Regions from separate parts of the Homo sapiens genome. Here region 2 is linked to region 1. Evidence: promoter capture Hi-C in human tissues and cell types (Jung and others, 2019). All regions are on one chromosome and are shown on one strand. The core of a region is centred on a gene start or on the middle of the fragment in contact, and the rest is flanking DNA. Distances in the headings are between cores, read along the strand shown.

Region 1 (4,938 bases), core at 1,538-4,037:
CATGATAATGAAAGAAACAAGTGCATGCACAATTGAGCTTCATGCCTCTTCATGGGTTGCATATGCAAAAAACGGCTGCATTCGCATGATCCTAGGGTGGAGTTTTCAGCCCTCTGATGTCAAAAGGTAAAGCGCAGGAAATGAAAACCCTCATTGTGCATCCTCTCCAAAACCCATCTGGAGATGATGGTCAGTTTTAGGAAGAGATGCATAGTGAAACTGATGAACTGTCATTTTGAAACTGCGAAGTCAGTCTGGGCAACATAGCAAGACCTTGTCTCTACAAAAAATTTAGAAATTAGCCAGGTGTGGTGGTTTGTGCCTGTGGTCTCAGCTACTTGGGAGGCTCAAGTGGAGGACTGCTTCAGCCCAGGAGTTTGAGGCTGCAGTGAGCTGTGTTCATGCCACTGCACTCCAGCCTATGTGACATAGTGAGATCCCTTCTCAAAAAAAAAAAAAAAAAAAAAGAAAAGAAAAGAAAAGGAAAGTGCAAAGAGTAGGGAGTCTGGTTCTGGCCTCTAAAACCAATGAAGGATTAATCATCCCTTTCTTGATTTCTAGAGCTGGTTTCTGCTTACTCCTTAGGAAAGAATTCTGTTTAAAGGTTAATAAGGAAGGGGCATATTGAGGTGTGTTGGACTTCCCATCTCATCATAGCCAGGAATTCAGTTTTTTTTTTCTTTCTTTTTTTTTTTTTTCAAAGAGTCTTGCTTTGTTGCCCAGGCTGGAGTGCAGTGGTGCGATCTTGGCTCACTGCAAGCTCTGCCTCCCGGGTTCACGCCATTCTCCTGCCTCAGCCTCCCTAGTAGCTGGGACTACAGGCGCCCGTCACCACGCCTAGCTAATTTTTTGTATTTTTAGTACAGGTGGGGTTTCACCGTGTTAGCCAGGATGGTCTCGATCTCCTGACCTCGTGATCCGCCCGCCTTGGCCTCTCAAAGTGCTGGGATTACAGGCGTAAGCCACTGCGCCCGGCCGGGAACTCAGTTTTTAAGGTTGCTCTAGTGTCCCCTTAGCCACGATGGGGTCCATTAAGTTGGTTGGGGTGGTACTTAAAATTTTTATTTCTCAGTCTCAAAAATGTCATTTTACAGTTTGTTTGAATCAGGATCCAAACAAGCTGCACTCATTGCATTTGAATATATTTCTTTTTTTTTTCTCAAGAGGGAGTCTTGCTCTGTTGCCCAGGGTGGAATGCAGTGGCACAATCTTGGCTCACTGCAACTTCTGTCTCCTGGGTTCAAGCGATTCTCCTGTCTCAGCCTCCTGAGTAGCTGGGGGCTACAGGTGTGCACCACCATGCCTGGCTAATTTTTGTATTTTTTGTTGGAGACGGGGTTTCACCATGTTGCCCAGGCTGGTCTTGAACTCCTGACCTCAAGTGATCCTCAGAGTGTTGGGATTACAAGTGTGAGCCACTGTACCTGGCCAACATTTGAATATATTTCTTAAATCTCTTATAATCTAAAACATCTCTCCTCATTTTTATACCCTAAAATTGTTGAAGGAAGAAGAGGTCATTTATTCTGTACATTGGCTCACATTCTGGATTTGTTTGATTGCTTTCTTGTAGTGTTATACAGTTGTTTCTCTTTATTTCTTGTTAACTGGAAATTACAGCCAAAACTTGATTAGAGTCACTCAACTTTTTTTTTTACAAAAATACGCTATACTTCATAAATATTTCTGTTCAATTGCATCACATCAAGAAACAATGCTCAGCTGTCCCATGTTTCGTGATCTAAGATTGATTAGTACATGTAGGTTATCTTCAGTGTACATCCTTCAGTGTAAAATTCTCCCATAAATTATCTAATACTTTTAGCATCCATCAACGACTGTTGACTAAATAAGTTATTTATTGAGATCCTTCCTCTGGTCCAGACTGTTTTCATCAGATTAGTTTTATCTTTGTCCCCTTTATTTCTGTAGCCAATTGCCTAGGAAAGATCCTTTCATCTTCCAGCTTTCTTAGATCTCCAAATCTCTCAGGTCTACGGACATCTGAGGCAGGAGCGCGATCTGGCTTGCCTGGGGAGCTAACGAGATAAGGAATTGAGTCAGTATTTCCTAACGTTCACACTTGAAGCCCATAAAGCAGGCAGGTGGTTTTAATTTTGCCCCGCTGGGTGGGTTGGGGTTAGGGAAGGATGGGTTAGAGGGAGGCAGAGTGAATCGGGCAATCTCCCCTTTCCTGCGGTCAAACTCAAAGGCTTTTTCTAGAAATCCTTCAACTGAGCCTGGGCCCTTTGATTTTCAATTGAGGCAAGGCCAAAGAGTCCAGGCCAGGCGTGGGGGCTCCCGTTGTAATCCCAGCGACCAGGAGGCTGATGCAGGAGGATCACTTGAGGCCAAGAGTTTAAGACCAGTCTGGGTAACATAGTGAGACCCTGTCCTGAGAAAAAAAATTTAAAAATAGCCCAGCATGGTGGCGTGCCTGTAGTCCCAGCTACTCGGAAGGCTGGGGGCGGGCGGATCGCTTGAGCAGGAGTTCAAGTTCGCAGTGAGCTATGATCACGTCGCTGCACTCCAGCCTGGGCGACAGAGCGAGATTCTGTCTCTAAAAAAGAAAACAGTCCATAGGGAGTAGGTGGAATTAGAGTAGAAAGAGAGAGTCCTGGATGCTCCGAATGGAGCCTTTCAGAGCTTTAACCACGGGACTACATCTCCCAGAATTCCGCTCGCCGGATCCCACCGCACTGAAGGGACTGCGCGTGCGCGAGTCAGGTGACGACCCGCCCCTACAGGCCCCAGAACCCCCGAGATTCCCCGCGCTTGCCTCCCGCCCTCTTCTTCCAGACTCTCGGTCTGTCCGCTGGGGGCGCGCGCGGTGTGTGGCAGGCGGCAGCGGCGCTGGCGGCCGAGTGCGCTTGTCACGCGTGGCGGTGCGTGGTTGCTAGGGGCGCCTGAGGCTGCCGGGTAGCCCAGCAGGCCGAGGGAGGAAGTAGCGTGGAGCCGGTGCCGAGCCGGGGCGAAGCTGGATCCCCTAGGTGAGTGCGGCTGCGGAGCCAGGGGAGCCGACCCCAGACACTCCGCCGGTCCCACGCTCCCGACCTCCCTCTACCTGAGTCCTTTCGCGCGGGTCCCCAGCCCTCCGGCCACTCTCACCCTAGCCCCGCTTCCTCCCGCCACCTCTCATCCCCCGGGAGGCCAGGGAGCCGCGGCCTCCTACCCGGCCGGGACTTCGCGCCTCCTCGGAGCCCTTCTCCTCTCCGCCACGCCCCGCGAACTTAGTCGGCCTCGCCTCCGGGTGCCCGAACACTGCCTCATCCCCTAGTTATGGCCTCCGAGCTTCCTCTGTCCTGCCGCGCTGAGGTTTAAATTCCCTCTGGGTGTGAGCCCAAGCTCCTCGCAGGCTCCAGGGCCGAATTTAACATGGATATCTGCTTTTTCACTTCTCCATCCTCAGTATCTGTAGAAGAATACGTTCCTAAACTCCACAGATTCAAACAGGATCTGAGATCCTGTGGAATTTAATTCTTCATTCATCAATTCCTTTATTTAATCATTCACTAAACAATTTTTAGTAAACATTGACAAATATTTAATGAGCCTGGGTACAATGGGAGGGATTGAGGGGATAGAGTGGCTAATAGGACAAGCATGTTTTCACGGAATTTACAGTCTAGGAGATTATTAATCAAGTAAACGAGCATTTGCCATACTGTGGTGTGTGCTGTGATAGAACAGGAAATACTTAATCCGGACTTACTTAGAAAACGACATTATTGCCATTCCTCCTGGTCTTCACATTCCCATTCTGGATCTCGGAAATATTTTAATCCTTCCTTGATGAAATCTTCTTTGCTTTCTCAGATACTACAAATCACCTATTCTTTAACTGCAGCACCTGTTGATTTAGCATTTGGGGGACCCTTTGGGACAGTGTTCCATCCCATCCTTCTGTTTCTTGCACTGAATACTGAGACACTGTTTGCATTTAAACCACCCACTTTGTGCTCAGAAAGTTAGCAGCTACTTATATTGGACTGAATCAATCCTTGAAAAATTATCAAGTGTTTTCTGCGAATAGAGAGGTGGGAGGACATTCCAGATACACAGTGGCTTTAGGAAAGGGACAGCAAGTCCTGAAAAGAGAACTGGAAACAGTTTGACAGACCTGGGCTAGATTTGGAGGGAGCCATCCAGTAACAAATAGAAAGAGTGAAGTTAATAGGGGTTAGATCACAAAGGGCCTTGGATGTTTTGCTGAGTTAGAACTATATCCCTGGAGCAGTGGTTTTCAAGCTGGAGTAATCAGGGTTGTAGACTTCCAAGGGATACACTTGCACGTCTAGCTTAACATGAATACATTTCCAGATCCTCAGCTTCCCAGTGAACTTTTTTTTTTTTTTTTGAGACAGAGTCTTGCTCCGTCACCCAGGCTGGAGTGCAATGGCACGATCTTGGCTCACTGCAACTTCCACCTCCTGGGTTCAAGCGATTCTCCTACCTCATTCTCCGGAGTAGCTGGGATTAGAGGCGCATGCTGCCACGCTCGGTTAATTTTTTGTATTTTTTAGTAGAGACGGGGTTTCACCATCTTGGCCAGGCTGGTCTCAAACTCCTGACCTCGTGATTCACCCGCCTCGGCCTCCCAAAATGTTGGGATTACAGGTGTGAGCCACCGCGCCCGGCCCCAATGAACTCTTTTTCTAAAACTTCCCTTACAAAAAAAGGGTAGGAGGCTGTGTGTGGCAAATCCCTCACACTTCCCAAATTTTAATATGGTGTATTGGCCTGAGTGTAAAAATGTCCTCAGATACAAATAAGGACTACTTTGGAAATATTTATTTTCAGGAACACCTCCTTTAGTGATTTAAGTTACCTCCCAACCCAGAAGGCTTGCCAATACACAATCCCATTCGTGTAAACTGTATTCTTTGTTAAGATATTCTGAAAAGAACACAACAGTTAAATGTAACGGGAATGTCTTTT
Region 2 (4,798 bases), core at 1,501-4,000, 71 kb after region 1:
CGGAGTCTTGCTCTGTCACCCAGGCTGGAGTGCAGTGGCGTGATCTCGGCTCACTGCAAGTTCCGCCTCCCAGGTTCACGCCATTCTCCTGCCTCAGCCTCCCGAGTAGCTGGGACCACAGGCGCCCGCCACCACGCCCGGCTAATTTTTTGTATTTTTAATAGAGACAGGGTTTCACCGTGTTAGCCAGGATGGTCTCGATCTCCCGACCTCGTGATCCGCCCTCCTCGGCCTCCCAAAGTGCTGGGATTACAGGCTTGAGCCACCATGCCCGGCCGCGTGTTGGTAAATCTTTTGAGCTGGCAGTCTAATTAATCCTGAGTTGTTAATATAAAGAACAGGTGTGGTTTATTACTGTGTAAACCCCTTTGTTTAGCTAGAAGATAAAGCCTTCTGCTTTTTGATCATTTGAATGGCTTATGTTTTGGCCCTGTTAGGGCCTCATACAATGGCTTAGCAATTCTGCAAAATCCTGCTATACCCAGGAAAGTTCTTAGGTTTTTTTTTTGTTGTTGTTGTTGTTTATAGAGGTTTTACTTCTAAGTAAACTTTTGTTTGATGGACAAGGTCCAGTTTCCTGAGTTTAGAATATACTACAGGTATTTCACTTTTGGTAGAGAAATTTGGGCTTGGATGGAGAGAACTGATTTTTTTTAAGGAAGTTTAGGACTTGAATGGCATTTTTATTTGAGTCTTCTTTAGTGGGGCTGTATACAAAGATGTTATTTACATACTGGAGTGTGGCTCTCCTTTTTAGCTCTGGCTTTCTTAACTTTTGTGTCAAGGCATTTTTGAACAAGCAAGGGCTATCCCTAAAGTCATGAGGCAGTATTGTCCTGGTGTACCATTGGGTAATAGTAGTTTCAGGATTAGTCTACTTGAAAGGAAATAAGTTCTGAGAGTCGAAGTGCAAAGGAATACAAAAGAAAGCATTCTTATGATCTAACACTGTGAACTAATTGGTGTTTTCTGGTATTTGGTTAAGTATAGTATAAGGATTTGGCACTATAGGATGTAAGAGAATTATGACCTCGTTAATGGCTCCTAAGTCTTGAACTAGATCATATATATATATATATATATATAATTTTTTTTTTTTGAGATGGAGTCTCACTCTGTTGTCCAGGTTGGAGTGCATGGCACAATCTCAGCTCACTGCAATCTCCGCCTCCCGGGTTCAAGCGATTCTCCTGCCTCAGTCTCCCCAAGTAGCTGGGATCACGTGTGCCACCACGTTTTTAAAGCATGGCCTCCTGTCCTTCCTGTCCAAAAACCAAATGAAAAATATGGTCTAGGTTGGGTGCTGTGGCTCACACCTGTAATTCCAGCACTTTGGGAGGCCGAGGTAGGTAGATCATCTGAGGTCAGGAGTTTGAGACCAGCCTGGCCAACATGGCAAAACCCTATCTCTACTAAAAATACAAAAATTAGCCGGGCGTGGTGGCGGGCACCTCTAATTCCAGCTACTCTGGAGGCTGAGACCGGAGAATTGCTTGAACCGGGAGGCGGAGGTTGCAGCGAGCCAGGATTGCACCACTGCACTCCAGCCTGGACGACAGGGTGAGACTCTGGGGAGTGGGGAGGAGAGAATTAACAAACTATATGACACAAAGGAACAAAAATACACAAGACAGGATAAGAGAGAGGAAGGATACAGGGAGAGCTAACATACATATAGCAGTTTGAAGTCCCGGGAAAGGAGAAAAAAATGGGGAGGAGCAATATTTGAACAGATAATATCTGAGAAACTCCCCAGACTGATCAAAGACATCCAGTCACAGAGTCAAGAAACTAGGAGTCCTAGAATAAATAAGTAGAAAGCCACACCTAGCAACTCAGCTGTCAGCCTAATTGAACTTAATATGCCCTTTCTTCTCTGGCTGCCTGTAAATCACCAATTTTTCAAATGCTGTTAGAACCAGCTGTACCATCCTGCTGGGTCCTTCATTCCTGGCTTGAATGTGATCTTTGACCCTGTATTTATTTTATACTTGCGTGAGTTATGTTTTTAAACTTTTTGACAACTATACTTTGAATATACATGAAACATAGGATTCATAAGACAATACTTTTTTTTTCTTCTTGCTGTACGTTTTCCGTACTATGTTACTCTTTCCATTTTATTAAAAATAATTCTGGCCATCATCTACGAAATCTGGTCTCAACCTGCAGTTTGAAATATCCTGCCTTGGCAGACGCGGCAGGGAGGTGCGTGGAGGGAGAATTGAATTAAAAAAAAAAACAACAAAACACGAATATTTAGATTTCTTTGTTCAGCGGCCCCCCTCCAGGGATCAGATGACTGGCCCCCCTCGCTCCGAACTGACTCCGGGATCAATCCGGAAGGCCATTGGGAGAAGCCGAGGGCAGCTTAGCCACGGCCGGTTCCCGTTCCCTCCAGGACGCGAGGGTCGCCTTGGGTGGGGAACCGCGACCGGGCGAGGACCTATCCCGGTGTGGGGCTTCCCGATTTCGAAAGAATCTCGCTGCACCCCCGCCCAGAGTTCAGACCAAGCGAAAAGTTATTTGAGAGGCCTCGGGGGCGCGGGGTGAGGAGTCGTGGCGGAGGCCTTGGTCGGGGCGCCGTGGATATCCCCGAGTCACCGCGTCCCTCTCCTGCAGCTCCCGCGTCGCTGGGAGGAGCGAGGGAGCGAGCGGGAAGGGGTCTAGCTGGCCTTTGCTCGGCCCTCCCCAGCGCCCGGCTTTGAACCCGCCCTGCACTGCTGTCTGGGCGGGTCCGGGGACTCAGCACTCGACCCAAAGGTGCAGGCGCGCGAGCACAACCCATGGCTGCGCTGGGCTGCGCGAGGCTGAGGTGGGCGCTGCGAGGGGCCGGCCGTGGCCTCTGCCCCCACGGGGCCAGAGCCAAGGCCGCGATCCCTGCCGCCCTCCCCTCGGACAAGGCCACCGGAGCTCCCGGAGCCGGGCCTGGTGTCCGGCGGCGGCAACGGAGCTTAGAGGAGATTCCACGTCTAGGACAGCTGCGCTTCTTCTTTCAGCTGTTCGTTCAAGGCTATGCCCTGCAACTGCACCAGTTACAGGTAACCCGCGGGGGCATCGCGTCCTGGGGATGGGAGTGGGCACCGGAACAGAGAGGCTAGAGGTGAGAAGACGTTGGACAGAAAGTGAAGGCTGCAGGAACTCAGCTGGGGACCCACTGAGGCTATGGTCATAAACTGGAAATCAGTAGGGAGAATGGGCAAAGTGCAGACAGAGCCCTTTGAGCTGAGATAAACAGGACGAGGAAGGGCTTAAATCAGGACGGCACCAGTAAGGGGGGGATCTGGACGCCGGACTTACAGTGAGCAGAGGTTGAGGAGGGAGCTGTCTTGGGAAGAGAGTGGCAGAGGCAAATGTGTAAGCTAACGGATATTATGGAATCACTAATTCTGGGCTGATATTGGCTACCACAGACTTCTTCCAAACGAAATAACTTCAGGAGGATTATAGAAACCTCTTGGTTATTTGCAAGGTAAATTTCCTCTTAGGGGAAAACACAATGCTGCATCTCAGATCGTGGAAGCAAACTCACAGACAGTAAGGAAAAGGTACTTTTTGTTATTAAGAAATCAGTCTGAGGCCGGGTGCAGTGGCTCACACCTGTAATCTCAGCACCTTGGGAGGCTGAGGTGGGCAGATTACCTGAAGTCAGGAGTTTGAGACCAGCCTGGCCAACATGGTGAAACCCCATCTCTACTAAAAATACAAACATTAGCCGGGCATGGTGGCACATGCCTGTAATCCCAGCTACTAGGGAGGCTGAGGTAGGAGAATCGCTTGAACCAGGGAGGTAGAGGTTGTGGTGAGCCAAGATTACGCCATTGCACTCCAGTCTGGGCAACAAGAGCGAAACTCTGTCTCAAAAAAAAAAAAAAAAAAAGAAAAAAAGAAAAAAGAAATCAGCCTGTAGTCTGTGTTCAGGTTAGTGGTGTTGGGGGAGAAAACCAATGTCTAATAAGAAAGTTTTATACAGCAGAACACAGAAATGAGGCAGGGATGAACAGCTCACTGCTCACTGACAGAGACCGGAAAACCCAACACTGACCAATGTTGGAGAGGATTTAGGGAATGAACCAAAGGGGTTCATACAGGATCTATCTTCCTAATGACTATCAACAAATATGAATGCACCTACCATGTTCTAGGCATGGTTCCAAGTACTGGGATTCAGTGAGATGAGGCTTCTGCCCTCATGGGGCTTAAATGCTCCTCTGAAGAAGATGGAGGACAAAGAGATAAAGCAACAAAAAGTTAACTTCACAGAGAGAACTCTGGGGGAGAAGCTGTTCTAAGGTTGGGGAAGAGGGAGGGGGCTTCGATTCGGGGTGCCTCCACAAGGACACTTGGTTGTCAGGGACTGATAGGAGTAGGCTGGTCCTGGGCTGGGGTAGCCAACCATCTGCTGGTCATGTGTCTGTGCTGGGAAGGAGTCAAAAGTAAGGAGGAGCTGTGGGGACTGGGGACAGGACTGGCCTTTGAGGACAGCCTTGAAGATCAAGATAAGGGCCCTGGTTCCTCTGAGGGGCCATGGTGAGCTCTTGAGCAAGCATGGGGTGAAGACGGCCTGCATGGAACACTGTCCAGGCTGTGGTGTGTGTAGTAGGAGAGGTGCAGAGGGTCTAAGGTGATGAAGGCTCAGGCGTGGCAGGATCCAGGATGGAGAGGCAGATCTGAGCCACACTCCAGAGAAAACTGGAATGGAGGTTGAGGATGAGGGAGAAGATGACTCTGAGGGCAACGAAGGGCAAAACTGACTACAACCAGGGCTGCATCCTCTGCCCTGTCCTGGTGGCTGCTG

Evidence for each region. The method cuts DNA at HindIII sites, captures the fragments that hold promoters and counts their contacts. A contact is called where the count stands out against the background at its distance.
Region 2: a contact is called between the fragment with the promoter of CYP27A1 here and the fragment with the promoter of TTLL4 in region 1, in 1 of the 25 tissues and cell types used here (psoas muscle).

The regions. Positions count from the first base shown.
Region 1 is chr2:218,708,048-218,712,985 of GRCh38, forward strand. It overlaps TTLL4 (tubulin tyrosine ligase like 4), which reads left to right and starts at 2,788. Exons shown (of 20, transcript NM_014640.5): 1 at 2,788-2,990. It overlaps LOC124907983 (a long non-coding RNA gene), which reads right to left and starts at 3,437. Exons shown (of 2, transcript XR_007088089.1): 1 at 3,173-3,437; 2 at 1,555-2,039. RefSeq lists enhancers at 315-364, 2,590-2,689 and silencers at 3,070-3,119, 3,130-3,179. The HindIII fragment of the contact is 14,281 bases long and covers 1-4,938 here.
Region 2 is chr2:218,779,397-218,784,194 of GRCh38, forward strand. CYP27A1 (cytochrome P450 family 27 subfamily A member 1) reads left to right here and starts at 2,751. Exons shown (of 9, transcript NM_000784.4): 1 at 2,751-3,041. The coding sequence starts at 2,787. The HindIII fragment of the contact is 16,207 bases long and covers 1-4,798 here.